5 separate regions of the Homo sapiens genome follow, and regions 1, 3, 4 and 5 are each linked to region 2. Evidence: promoter capture Hi-C in 16 types of primary human blood cells and fetal thymus (Javierre and others, 2016). All regions are on one chromosome and are shown on one strand. The core of a region is centred on a gene start or on the middle of the fragment in contact, and the rest is flanking DNA. Distances in the headings are between cores, read along the strand shown.

Evidence for each region. Contacts are between HindIII fragments. The CHiCAGO score rates a contact against its expected background, and 5 or more counts as called.
Region 1: a contact is called between a fragment that was not itself captured here and the fragment with the promoter of PPP3CC in region 2, in 2 of 17 cell types (M2 macrophages and endothelial precursors). The highest score is 7.1, in M2 macrophages.
Region 3: a contact is called between a fragment that was not itself captured here and the fragment with the promoter of PPP3CC in region 2, in 6 of 17 cell types (non-activated CD4 T cells, naive B cells, naive CD4 T cells and 3 more). The highest score is 6.9, in non-activated CD4 T cells.
Region 4: a contact is called between a fragment that was not itself captured here and the fragment with the promoter of PPP3CC in region 2, in 11 of 17 cell types (naive CD8 T cells, activated CD4 T cells, total CD8 T cells and 8 more). The highest score is 13.1, in naive CD8 T cells.
Region 5: a contact is called between a fragment that was not itself captured here and the fragment with the promoter of PPP3CC in region 2, in 3 of 17 cell types (endothelial precursors, M1 macrophages and naive CD4 T cells). The highest score is 8.5, in endothelial precursors.

The regions. Positions count from the first base shown.
Region 1 is chr8:22,893,766-22,896,465 of GRCh38, reverse strand. All of the region lies in intron 3 of PEBP4 (phosphatidylethanolamine binding protein 4), which reads left to right. LOC124901907 (a long non-coding RNA gene) reads left to right here. Exons shown (of 2, transcript XR_007060854.1): 2 at 1-1,415. Among named protein-coding and RNA genes, the nearest start is that of PEBP4-AS1, 17 kb to the right of the region's middle. The HindIII fragment of the contact is 1,551 bases long and covers 650-2,200 here.
Region 2 is chr8:22,439,669-22,442,368 of GRCh38, reverse strand. It overlaps PPP3CC (protein phosphatase 3 catalytic subunit gamma), which reads right to left and starts at 1,291. Exons shown (of 14, transcript NM_005605.5): 1 at 911-1,291. The coding sequence starts at 959. RefSeq lists silencers at 769-1,428, 1,519-1,708. The HindIII fragment of the contact is 13,070 bases long and covers 1-2,700 here.
Region 3 is chr8:22,753,412-22,756,111 of GRCh38, reverse strand. The region is part of intron 4 of PEBP4 (phosphatidylethanolamine binding protein 4); the gene reads left to right. It overlaps LOC107986925 (a long non-coding RNA gene), which reads right to left. Exons shown (of 3, transcript XR_007060852.1): 1 at 1,250-2,700; 2 at 104-384. Among named protein-coding and RNA genes, the nearest start is that of EGR3, 61 kb to the right of the region's middle. RefSeq lists an enhancer at 940-1,049. The HindIII fragment of the contact is 743 bases long and covers 906-1,648 here.
Region 4 is chr8:22,912,034-22,914,733 of GRCh38, reverse strand. The region is part of intron 3 of PEBP4 (phosphatidylethanolamine binding protein 4); the gene reads left to right. Among named protein-coding and RNA genes, the nearest start is that of PEBP4, 15 kb to the left of the region's middle. RefSeq lists enhancers at 1,567-2,338, 2,339-2,700. The HindIII fragment of the contact is 5,686 bases long and covers 1-2,700 here.
Region 5 is chr8:22,935,004-22,937,703 of GRCh38, reverse strand. It overlaps a transcript of PEBP4 not described here. Among named protein-coding and RNA genes, the nearest start is that of PEBP4, 8.4 kb to the right of the region's middle. The HindIII fragment of the contact is 1,011 bases long and covers 765-1,775 here.

The sequences.
Region 1 (2,700 bases), core at 176-2,675, 450 kb before region 2:
GAGGTGGAAGGAACCCCATCACTGGGATGAGGAGGGGAGATCAGGGAAGACTCCCCTTAGCCTGAGGATGGCTCTGAGCAAACACGTTGGAGCCTGGATAATACCCCACTGAACACTGCAACTATCGGTTAAAGGAGCCATTGGAGTAAGAATTGATAGGTCAGCGGGAGCAAAACTCAACCATTCCTGATTAATTAGTATTACCGTGGCCTATGTATTTCTCTAGTTCAGATCTTCATCAGATCACACTCCAGCTATGACAGTGATTGTCCAAGCTCCATTCCCTGTCTCTCCTCCCAGACTAGGACATCTTCTTCTTCTGGGTTCCCACATCATTCTAGGTTCCAGTGGCACTTTTCTTACTTGATGCAAGGATGTGGGATTTGGGAACATGGTTTCATCTCTCCAACCACAATACCAGCAACTTTCAGGCAACTGTCTGATGCCACACAGCAAATCTGCCCCAGGGCAGAGGGGGCAGTAGGTAGGCAGTAACTGGGAGCACAGGCAGAGAGGCTGGCATGAAGAAACCTGCCCATGGGAAGCAGGGCCAATGCCACCTAGGCTGGGTTCAAGGATGTGGCCAAAAAAGCAGAACTTCCGACAAACTTGGAAAACTAGTCAGGTTACTGAAACAGGAACTTAAGCTTCTCAGCAAATTAGACGTAACATATAAACTGGAAAAATCAGTGAACTTGAAGATAGAGCAACAGAAATGATCTAAAGAAATATAAAGAGAGAAAAGAAGGCTGGGGGACAGAACAGAGCACCCAAGCATTGTGAGACAACATAAAATGGTCTAACATATGTATAGTTGGGATCTCATTAAGAAAAGAGAGCAGAGTAGAACTATTTGAAGAGATAATGACCAAGAACTTGTTAAAGAAAGGCAACATACCACAAGTCCAAGATACTCAGAGAACCTTAATCAGAATTTTTAAAAAAATCCACCTAGATGTGTCATGATCAAACTGCTAAAAACCAAAGATAAATTCTGAAGACAACCAAGGAAAACAGAATGCCGGTGTCCCCCTCACCAAAGCATGTCTAAATGCTTGTGAAGAAAGTATGTTCTCCTGGGACAGAGTGAAGGAGGGTATGTGGGGAACACATGTGTAAGCCCACCCCAACATTATTATGCCTCTCCAGGTATTAAGATTCCTTGCTTTATATCAAGGAACTTCTGTCACCTTAGCTTTATTTAGTATAGGATGCCATTCAGTTCAGGTTTCATTTCAGATAACCCACTGAGTGAACAGAACCATACCCAGATGATCCAGCCAGTACTTTGGATCCAGAATCCATATTGATCAATATGGCCCAATTGAAAATGATCTTCTTTCCTCCGTGATCAGCACCTTACTATACATTTCTCAGATTTCTGCCAATAAATATTAAAAAACAAATGGCACCTACTTTGGTGTGAAAGTCTACTGTTTCAGAATCAGACTTTGTGCTTGTCTCCCTTGGCCATGCTGAAATCTGATTCTAGAATAGGTCAGGAGCAGCCAGGGGTGGTAAGTGTCGACCTCAGGGAGAATCAGGATTCTCTTGCAAGACAGGACCTGGGGAAAAGGGGCAGCTTCTGCTGGAAAGGGAGGCTCAGCAGGGTCTAAGACTCAGTTATATGAATTCAGCATCCCCATTCACAGGGTTCCATCTTTCCCAGTCAACACCATCTCCCATAAGAGACCTGATGAGGCTGTGAACTTAACTTAGGTTGTAATTCTACAACCTGCTGGGTCAGACTTCACTTCTGATTTCAGTTTTGTTGGCCCTGAAACTACAAACCGTGGGAGATTCTTTCAGGATAGTCTTAACTGTTCCTTGCTCTTCTGATTGAGCCTTGAGCCAAGAATTTATTACTATTTTATTTTATTTTTAGAGACAGGGTCTCACTCTGTTGCCCAAGCTGGAGTGCAGTGGCATGATTACGGTTCACTGCAGCCTTGACCTCCTGGAATCAAGCAATCTTCCCACCTCAGCCTCCTGAGTAGCTGGGACTACAGGCACATGCCACTATGCTTGGAATTTTTTTTATTTATTTTTTATTTTTTGTAGAGACAGGGTCTTACCATGTTGCCTGGGCTGGTCTCGAACTCCTGGGCTGAAGCCATCCATCTGCCTTGGCTTCCCAAAGTGCTGGGATTATAGAGTGAGCCACTATGCATGGCTGTGCCAAGAATTTAAACCTCAAGCTTCTAACCATTTTTCTTTACTTTTCCCACTTCTGGCAGAAGAAGTCATCTTATTCCAACATCTTTATATTCATCATTCTGACATAATAATCTATCGTGCAATTCCGCCAAACTCTTATCTTCAATGGGTACTTTGTTCTAGGTAATCACACTTGATAATCAAGATTATTTTGCTACTATATGCCGCGGGCTGCCAGTGACACATTTGCTAATGGTAACCTGTGCTCTCATCTTCACTGGTTTTAAGCAATTTGATTGTGATGTGTTTGGTGTAGTTTTCTCATGTGTCTTGTGCTTGGCATTTCTTTGGTTGGGCTTCTGGGATCTGTGGGTTTACAGTTTTCATCAAATTAAGACATTTTTCAGCCATTATGTCTTCTAATATTTTTTCTAATATTCCCTAAAAGGGAATTTTAGGGACTCCTATTGCATGTATATTTGGCTACTTGAAGATGTCCCACAGCTCACTGATATGCTATTCTGGTGGGTTTTTTTCAGTCTT
Region 2 (2,700 bases), core at 42-2,541:
TTTCCCCACTGTCACGCTAACCCCTGCATCCAGAGGCCACTAACACAGCTGGTCTAAGTCTATTCCCTTCTTACAAAATAGCGCTTTCAAACCGATTGTTAATCTCAGAGAGAAGGGTTGTGCCTAAGACTTACGGCTGAATAAAAGCAGCACATAAATTAGTGGTTATGTGTAATCCATCTTCTTAGTTTAAAGGGAGAAACAACTATAACCTAAAACTCTACAAGATTTAGAGAGCAAAGAGCCCTTTACATTTTGTTCTTATAACAACAACAGAAATCTAACGCAGGTACACATATGAATCAGAAAACGTCATTCTCCAAGTCTTTATAACCAAAGGGAAAATAAAATACCATTACCCTGTCAAGAGCTCCGTAAACTTATTTTAAACATCATATAATGGATTTATCTGACTTGTTCATACTAAGTTTATTCCAGTAATAGCAGTGACTTGCAATGATCTAGAGAAAGCGGGTCAAAAGGCACATGGTATACGTCCTAAAAAAGGGTGGGGGGCGGACGTCAAGAAAGATCTAATCTTAAATATCTTACTTGGAAGAGTCGACTCCCTGCTCACACCACCCCCGATGGCTTCCCCCGAGTCGTTTCTTAAAGAGAAAAAAAGACAGGGATCCGGGCCCTTCGGGGCGGTGGGAGAAGAAGTCCCCACTGCACCCTGAACCCTTCGGGAGGGAACTTGGCACTGACGGCCAGGCACCTGACCAGGTGCAGCAGAAAACGCCGGGTCCGGGTGGCTGCTCTCGGAGGCTGCCGCCCGGCTCTGTCTACACCCCTCCGAGCCCTCCTAGGGTGGGCGCAGCCCGGCCCCAGCCTCCCTCCGCCCCGAGCCGCCGCCCAGCCGAAGGCCGTTTCCCGCGGGTCCCAGAGGAAGGCCCGGCCCGCCAGGCACCTTTGATGACGCGGTCGGTGGTGGAGAGGTGGAAGCGCCTCCCGGACATGGTCCCCTCGGCCTCCTCCAGGCTCCAGGAGCCCGCCGGACGTGCGCCTACGCCGCGGCCGCCGCCTTCTCCTCGGGCAGCCTTAGCTGCCCGGAGCCGTCAGCCAGCCGTGCCCGGCCCCGGCTCCTCAGCGGTGTCCGAGCACCAGAAGGGCGCGGCCACCGCAGCGCCGGCCTCCGACGCCACTGACAGGACGAGGGCCCACCGGCCGCTCTCTTGGGAGGCGCCAGCGGCTAAGGCGGGGAACACCGCTTCGGCACCGACCGCGACCGCTGCTAAGGGTGGCGACCGGGACGGCCGCGGCTGCTCGCGGCCCGGGCCCTCGTGCACGCAAGCGCGCCCCCGAGCGCCGCTCTCACAACTTCCCAGCGGCCCCGCTGTCCTAGCGGACCCGGCCGGGCCTCCCGCCCCGAGCGCCGCCCTCCCCACCCTTCCGCCTTCCCGCGAGGCAGTAGAGCTCGGCGCACGCGCTGCTCTCGGCTCCTCCGGCTCCGGGTCCCTGCTGCTAACCGCCCATTTTCGCTTCTTCTCAGCCAGCCCTCCCCGCAGCCGGCCCCTTCTCTCCTGCCAGCCCCTACCCGGGCCCGGAACATCTGAAACCCGCCCGCGTGGCCCGCGCGACCCGCGCGGGAGGCCGGCCCGGCCATCTTGCGACCCGGCCCTGCGGCCTCGCAGCGGCTCCGCGCCGCCTCCTGGGACCGCCTCGCCGAGAACCCCTGGCCTCCCAGTCCTCGCCCACAGGCGACCACCCTCCTCACCTCTGGGTCTCCCACCCGCTTTGTCTCAAGGAGTGTGATCAGTCCGGCCGCGCTCCTTCAGTTTTTGTGGGTCATTCAACAAACGCACACATTTAAACCCCCTCGCTTCATCTTTCCCGCTTGTTGAGTGCAGTTAGTACAATGAGAAGGACATTCGTGTCCATCCTAGTTCCAGTCCAGTAGCTAGGGCGGTGGGGGATTGGGGGAGCTCCGTTTCTGAGCAAGGCTCTGCTCCCTCCTCACTTTCCACATCGAAGAGAAGGGAGATCTCTGCTCCTGGGACCCCCGGGCCGGACCTCCTCGGCCACAAGAACTGACCTCTTCCTATGCCCTGTGTGTCACCTGCCCAGCTAGAAGCCCCTTTTTTCTTCCCCCTGACACAGTACCTGCCTCCCCGGCCCAGGCTCACTGTGGAACCCCATGGGCAAGTCCGTAGAAACTTAACAGTCTGTTCATCTCGAGGTTAAAAACTAACCTTTATCTGTCCTTAAAACTGTAAGCCTAGAACAGAAACTGGCTCCAACTGTCCTCTCACTGAGTAACTGGCAAAGTCAAAAGGATTTTGACTTTTAGCAATGCAAATGAAATATTGAAACTGATGTCCAATAAAACATATGCAAGTTACAGGCAAAACCAGTCTTAACAATTACCGCAGTGACCGATAAGTAGTTGTAGCTATGTAAATTTAAATTAATCCCGTTCCTCTAGGGGACTAGCCACATTTCAAGTGTTCAAGAGCTACACGCGGCTACCTTATTGGACATCCAGAAAATTCTACTGGACAGCTGTTAGGTAAAAGATTATAGGATTAAGCGTAAATCTCCAATAATATGGATTTATGTATAGGCGGTCTGGGGATATATAGTGGAATCAGACCCTGAATTATCCCTTGGAATTTTGACCATAGCTCTTTGATGGTAACCGCAGGAGGCAAAAGGACTTTAGGAGCCGACTAGAATTTGGTTTTCGTTTTCATGATCCTT
Region 3 (2,700 bases), core at 28-2,527, 310 kb before region 2:
AATATGGGTCTCAGCTCAGGGCAGCTCAGTAGCCAACTTCCCCGCTGAATCTATTATGATACATCATTATAATGATTATTATCAATAAGTATTTAGCGAGCACCTTTAGTTGTGTCCCCGTTGGAGGCATTGCAGGAGCTTCAAAGATGAATAAGATGCAGATGTACGGCAGCAGCAGGAGCTTGGGATTGCAATGCTTTTCCTCCAGAGGGGAGAGCGTGTTCAGAGAGAGGGACTCTAAGCAAGTGGCTCCGTTTTCTGAGTGAGGTCAGATTGAAACCCTGTGCAAAGGTTGGCACAGCCAGCCTCAACCCCAGATGCCCAGGATAGGGCGGGATTCTTGAGGCCAGTTTGCTTGCTGATGTACTTACCCACTGCACATGGCTGAAAAAAAAGAACAATAAATGTCTAACATTATCAGTAATGGATGGTGATGATGATGACAAAAATGATGTTAGAAAAGAGTATACAATTTTGCCCCAGCACGGTGGCTCACGCCTGTAATCCCACCACTTTGGGAGGCCAAGGTGGATGGATTACTTGAGGTCAGGAGCTTGAGACCAGACTGGCCAACATGGTAGAACCCCATCTCTACTAAAAATACAAAAATTAGCTGAGTGTGGTGGCGGGCACCTGTAATCCCAGCTACTCAGGAGGCTGAGGCAGGAGAAACGCTTGAACCCGGAAAGCAGAGGTTGCAATGAGCCGAGATCACGCCACTGCGCGGCAGCCTGGGTGACAGAGCATGACTCCGTCTCAAAAAAAAAAAAAAAAAAAAAAAAAAAGAGGGAGAGAAATGAGTATACGATTTTGGCCCAAAGCCCTGGGAACTTCAGCTCTTCCTTCCTGCCTATTGGCATTTCTGTTACACTCCGCTAGATAATAGAAAGCCAGGAGCAGAAGCTTGAGAAACATTTAAGAATCACTCAAGCAGATCTTTGGACTCCAGGCAAGACTCAACTAAATCATCCAAGAAGAGTCACCGTTATAGCAGCAGGTGAACTCAGGAGTGGTTTCGAAACCCGGGAGTGGAATAATGGCCTCTTGGGCCCTTCCCCACTTTCCCACACCTAAGTTAAGGGAAAGCCCCAGCCCAGGCTCTCAGGAGACAGTAATAACCACCAAGGGCCATATTCCCTCCTCATTAGCCTACCAGATTCACAGTAGTTAAGAGCCGGAAGGAGTCTCAGTCCAGCCCTCCCATTCTATAGATGAGAACACTGAGGCCCAAAGAGGAGAACTGACTCACCCAGGGCCACACAGCAGAGATGGGTCTCAAACTCCCACATCCTTTCATTGCACTGTGAAAACCAGAGAGAGGTGAGGGAGGGGAGAGATGTGGGGAAATTATCCACCTCCTGAGCCTGCAGAGGTCTGTGTGATCCATACTCCCTGCCTAGCTGGCTCAATATCAGGCAGATGACAGCTTCATGTGGAGGGAGACCAACCGCCCCAAGGAGGCCACACAAATGGCCATGAAGCCAAGTCAGGGTGTGCAGTTTCTAGAATGAGCCTTTCCTCTCTGCTTTGCTCCCTGAAAAGAGCAAAAGGCTCTCTCACTTCCAGGCCTGCTGGCAAATTTCTGATGAGAAATCTACTCCAGCTTCTAACTCCCAAAGATCTCCCAGGCATCTACTTGGGATAAGCTTTCCTAGCAATTTTTAAAGCCAATTAGAGAAAAATTAAGGAATTAAATAGAAAAATTTGTGTTGGTTAAGGTCATAAAATCATTCATTCACTCAACACACGTCTACAGAGTGAGGATTCAGTCACAGAGACAAGGTCTCTGATCTTAATACACCCGCAGTCCAGTAGGTAAGGTAGAAAAATGAGCAGTTATCCCAGGGACTTTCACAACTACGATGTAAGATACTGGAAGCACCAGGAGGGAGCACCCTGTGGGTGGGGCGGCCAGGGGTCTAGGGCAGCTTCCCAGAGGAACAGACATCAGACCCTGGGGCTTGGAGAGCCGCTGAAAGCCCAGAGCCCATCCTGAGAAAGATAAAATTTGATCTGTTTGCTTCCATTTTCCACTTTCTCTTCAACCCTCCTCTCCCTCCATCTGAACATACCCCATCAGCAACCCTCGTTCCTGCTCTATAGTCAGACTTTCCCATCTTCTTCCCCATTTGGGACCCTCAGCCCACACCCTCAGCCCACACCCTATCAAACATGTAGAATCAGCAGAGGTTGTGGGGAGGGGCCCCACTCACACCCAGACAGATGTGCTCTGTTCCCCGCACAGCTGTCCAGGCGGTAGCCCATCTGCGCTCACTTCCTGCCTCCCAGCTCCAGCCCCTCACACCTCCCACACAAGGGCGGGGAAGTCTGGTCCTGAGATTCATCCCAAAGCCAATGTTGAGGCGGCCACCAGCCCGGCAAAGCCCCAGACCCTGGCTCCCACCTTCCCCTCTCCTCCACAAGGAGTGGTGGACCAGGAAGGGCTTCAGCAAGGTGGAGACTTTGCCTAAGCCACTCTGGAGGACTCTGCCTTGAAGTTCAGCTTCAGTCTCTTGGCAGTTGTGGGAGCTGCCTAGCTCTGAAGTTCTCCCAGCATCATGTGTCCACATGAAACACGCCAATATCACTGATCTGATTTCATTATTTTGTCAAGATTAAAAGAAGGCTGCTTCACTCGAGCCAGCTATATCCAAGGGAAGAAAATTATATTTTCAAGAGAGTTTGAGGCACAAATCTGTC
Region 4 (2,700 bases), core at 66-2,565, 470 kb before region 2:
CTGCCATCTGACTCCAGAAGAGAAGGCAGGGCTGGGCACCTGGGTCTGCATCCTCAGTGTTCCAGCAGGCGTGGACTCTGAGAGGAGGACAGGTTTACCTGCGGGTAGGCTCTGCTATGCTCAACAGCAGCCAGCCAGAGAGGTTGGGTGAGGCCACAGGAAACGCACGCACTGCCTTACCCCAGCAAGCCACTGGTTACCCGTGTGAGGGGACCAAGGAGTGAATGAGGAGTGGATCCCATGGAGTAGGCTACTCACACCACCGCTTTGCCAGGGGAGAAGAGATGCCTGCGAATGTTTAAGTGCTGGCAGGGGCTGGGCACAGTATGTGTTCAGTAATATTTACGAAGTGGGTCACATCTCTAATCCCAGCACTTTGGGAGCCCAAGACAGGAGGATTTGCTTGAGGTCAGGAGTTAGAGACCCCATCTCTACAAAAAAATGAAGTTAACCAGGCCTTATGGTGGTTGATGCCTGTAATCCCAGCACTTTGGGAGGCTGAGGTGGGCAGATCACTTGAAGTCAGGAGATCAGCCTGGCAAACATGGTGAAACCCCATTTCTACTAAAAATACAAAACTTAGCTGGGTGTGGTGGCACATGCCTGTAATCCCAGGTACTTGGGAGGCTGAGATAGGAGAATCACTTGAACCCAGGAGGCAGAGGTTGCAGTGAGCCTAGATCGCGCCACTATACTCCAGCCTGGGCAACAGAGCAAGACTCTGTCTCAAAAAAAAAAAAAAAAAAAAGTAGCCAGGCCTGGTAGTTCACACCTGTAGTCCTAGGTACTGGGGAGGCTAAGGTGGGAAAATCACTTGAACCCAGGAGTTCAAGGCTGCAATAGGCTAAGGAGCTATGATTGTGCCACTGCACTTCAGCCTGGGCAACAGAGCAAGACCCCAACTCTAAATAAATAAGTAAATTCTGGCAGGAAGGAGCCAATAAAAGGGCAGTGTCAAAATACAGCAGAAGGAGGGGTTGAGGGGTCGACTGGAAATGCTCATTCCAAGGTGATAAACGGTGTGAATGGTGGGAGTTAGGAGGATATTTCAAAGGGTGTCCAGCTCCTTTGGAGCCAATGGGACCTGGCCACTGACTGGAAGTCAGGGGTGGGAGGTGCCGGAGATGCTTCTGAGGGAAGAGGAGGAGGAAGGGGATAGTGGGCAGGAGGGGTGCAGGTGTGGCCGCAGGGGCTGGAGGGGGCTGCCCTATGCTGGCCCTGGGAGCTGGAGCTCAGCCAGCCAAGCCCCTACTGCAGGGGGAAGAGGCAATGTCATGAAATTGCAGGGTGGAAGGACTTTGGGGCAGAGCGTGGGGAATGATGATGTCACGGACATTGCAGAAGAAGTAAAGGTGCACAGAGGAGGGAGGTGCAGGGAAGAGGCAGGAATGGGGAGCAGGAGTCACCAGGCTCCACTGCTGGGAGAGGCTGCATGGGGCCAGGCTGGGGAAGAGCCACTGGATCTGGATCGTTCCAGGACTGCGGGCTGGGAGCAGAAGGTAAAGTCAGGACAGGGTAAGGGGCCACCCTGGGGAGATCACCAGTGCATCAGGTGAGGGTTTAGGGAAGAATTCATGAGATGCCACTGTATTTGGTGCCGAGCACCTAACTGGAGTTTCATGGATGGGATCAGTTGTCACTACAATAGAAAGAGATGGATTTGTAGTCTGAAGGACAGAAGACACAAAAGAAGAGTTGGACTTTCCAAGGTTCCAGGAGAACTGTGTGTGTTTGAGGCCCAGAGGCAGAGGGGACAGGAGGCCGCTGAGCTTGTAAATGAAGGGCTCAGGTGCTAACAGGCGGAGCCAGGTGTGGGAAGGCAGGTGAGGAGGGCGCGCAGCACCCAGGCAAGGACGAATCAGGTCATTTTATCCTTTGTCCCTGGCTCCTTCAGTGCAAGTAGTCAAAGTGCTAACATCACTCAGCTGTGTCCCACTCTAGCCCAGGTCCCCAGCCAGGTCATCCGGGGCTCCTCTGGGTGCAACTGGACTGGGTGAAAGGGGAGTGAGGATTGTCAGCATTTCTAACCTTTGCAGTTAGATGTTCAGGTTGCAAAGACACTTCCTATGCAGGACTTCACAGGACAGATCCTCCTAGCAACATGGGGCGATGGATAGAGCGGGGATTATCCCCTTGATGACAGATGAGGGCGCTGCCCAGGGTCACACTTGCCAAACCTGGGAAGTGGGAGAACCAGCCCCGGATGGCAGCTTCCCTGGCTTGCAGTCAACTACCTTTCACCTATGTAATTTTGCCTCCGGAATCCCCCGGTTCCTGAAAACAGGCCTGTAATGTTGACAGTGGAGAGGGGGTGTCATTCAGTCATTCATGTATTCACTGGAGCAGATCCGGATGGAGCTCCACTCTCTGCCCCTCTGCCAGGTACTGTTCCGGTAGTGAGGGATACACACAGAACGCACCCCTGCCCTGCCTGTGATGGGCATCTTGCAATAGTGAGAATGTCCATTGTTGTTGTTATCACTTGTCTGTTAAACACTTAATGGCTGAGGGGAAACCTTAACAGAACGGCCACGTGCTCCGGCGACTGTCTTACTCAGGGTGGCTCCATTAGGAGGATTCCCAGTCTTAATCTTCACTCCCAGGGCTCCTTATCCTCGTGGCCTTCTCTGTCATTCCAGAACTTCCTGCCAGACCTGAACCTGCCCCCAGCAGCTTTTAATCAAACAGCGCCCCCCCTTA
Region 5 (2,700 bases), core at 21-2,520, 500 kb before region 2:
TGGATTACTGTAGCTTTGTAGTAAGTTTTGTAATCAGAAAGTACGAGTCCTTCAACTATGTTTTCTTTTCAAGACTGTTTTGACTATTTGGGGTCCCACAAGATTATATATAAATTTTAGGATGGGTTTTTCTATTTCTGTAAAAAAAAATTGACATTTTCATAGGAGTTGCAATTAATCTGTAGGTCACTTTGAGTAACTTTGTCATTTTAACAATATTAAGTCTTCCACTCCATGAGCATTGAATGTCTTTACATTTATCTCTTCTTTAATTTATTTTAGCAAAATTTTGTAGTTTCAGTGTGCAAGTCTTTCACCTCCTTGGTTAAGTTTATTCCTAGTTTATTCTGCTTTATGTAATCATAAACAGAGTTGTTTTCCTAATTTCCTATTTGAATTCTTCGTTTTTAGAGCAAAGAAATGCATTTGATTTTTGTTTGTTGATTTTGTAAATTACAACTTTACTGAATTTGCTTATTAGCTCTAACAGTTTTTCTTTTTTAAAAAATTAGAGTTTTCTATATGTAAGATTGTCATCTGCAAACAGATAATTGTACTTCTTCCTTTCTAATTTGGATGCCTTTTATTTCTTTTCTTGCATAATTGCTCTGGCTAGAACTTTCTATATATGTTGAATAAGAGTGGCAAATGCATACATCCTTGTTTTGTTCCTGATCTTAGAGGAAAACTTGAAGTCTGTCACCATTGAGTATGTTGTTATCTGTGGGCTTTTTGTATATGGCCTTTATCATATCGAGGAAGCTTCTTTCCCTTCCTAGTTTGTTTTTATCATGGAAGTGTGTTGAGTTTTGTCAAATGCTTTTTTTGCATCAATTGAGATGACCATGTAGTATTTTTCCTTCATTCTATTAATGTGGCGGTATTATGTTGATTGGTTTTTATATGTTGAATCATGCTTGCATTCCAGAAATAAATCTCACTTGGTTATGCTGTATAATCCTATCGGTGTACTGTTGAATTATCTATGCTAATATTTTGTTGGGGACTTTTGCATCAGAGTTTCTAAGGGATATTGCTTTGTGGTTTTCTTTTCTAACTTTGGTTAGAAAATTGGCTTTGGTATCATAGTAACGCTGGCTTCACAGAGTGAGTCAGGGAGTATTCTCTCCAATGTTTTGGAAGAGTTTGAGAAGGATGAGTGTTCATTCTTCTTTAAATGTTTGGTAGAAATCACCAGTAAAACTATCTGGTTCAGAACTTTTCTTCACTGGGGCATTTTTGATTACTGCTTCAATCTTCTTACTAGTTGTGGATCTATTCAGGCTTTCCATCTCTTTATGATTCAGTCTTGGTAGGTTTTATGTTTCCAGGAATTTGTCCATTTCATCTGGGTTATCAAATTTATTACATAACCAACAACCTTACCCATTGTTTATATTAATCTCTTATCACCCTTTTTATTTCTGTAAAATATTATTTATATTTTTATTTTTATAAATTTTAGAGTAATCTCCTCACTTCATTTCTTATTTTAGTAATTTGAGTCTTCTCTGTTTTTTAATTAATCTGGCTGATAGTGTCAATTTTACTGATGTTTTTCAAAGAACCAACTTTTGGTTTTGTTGATTTTCTGTTTTTCTGTTCTCTATTTTATGTCTGTTGCAATCTTTAGTATTTCTTTCTTTCTGCTAGCTTTGGGTTATCTTGTTCTTTTTTTTTTTTTTCCCTAGCTCCTTAAGGTGTAAATTTAGGTTGTTGATTTGAGATCCTCCTTCTTTTTTAATATAAGCATTTACAACTTCTCAATGTAAGCTTTTATAGCTATTTTACAGCATGTACAGCTTTCACTGCATCCCATACATCTTGGTATACCAGTTGTTTCCCTTATCGAAAACACTTGGGACAAGAAGTATTTCAAATTTCAAATTTTTCAGATTTTAGAATATTTGCATATATGAGATATTTTGGAGATGGGACCTAAGTCTAAACATGAAATTTATTTATGTTTATATATACCTTATACACAGCCTAAAGATAGTTTTATACAATATTATTAATAATGTTGTGCATAAAACAAAGTTTTGACTGTGACCCATCACATGAGGTCAGGTGTAGGATTTTTTCACTTGTAGTATTCCATAGGCCTTCAAAGTTTTAAATCTTGAAGCATTTCAGAATTCCAATTTTTGGCTTAGGGATGTATTGTGTTTTTTGTTTTTGAGACAGTCTCACTCTGCTGCCCAGGCTGGACTGCAGTGGAGCGATCTCAGCTCACTGCAACCTCTGCCTCCTGGGTTCAAGCAATTCTCCTGCCTCAGCCTCCCAAGTAGCTGGGATGGGACTACAGGTGCCTGCCACCATGCCCAGCTAATTTTTGTATTTTTAGTAGAGACATGGTTTCTCCATGTTGGCCAGGCTGGTCTTGAACTCCTGACCTCAAGTGATCCACCCACCTCGGCTTCCCAAAGTGCTGGGATGACAGGTGTGAGCCACCATGCCCAGCCAGTCTCCCATTTCTTTAATTGGTCTTCTGCCTAGTTGTTCTATTCACTATTAAAAGTGGAGTACTGAAATTTCCAATTACTGTTGTTAAGCTACCTATTTTTCCCTTCAATTCTATCCTTGTATGCTTATATATTTTGGATCCCTGATGTTTGGTGCATATAGGTTTATAACTGTTATATCTTCTTGATGAATTGATTCTTATCAATATACAATGCCCTTCTTTTTCTCTTGTAG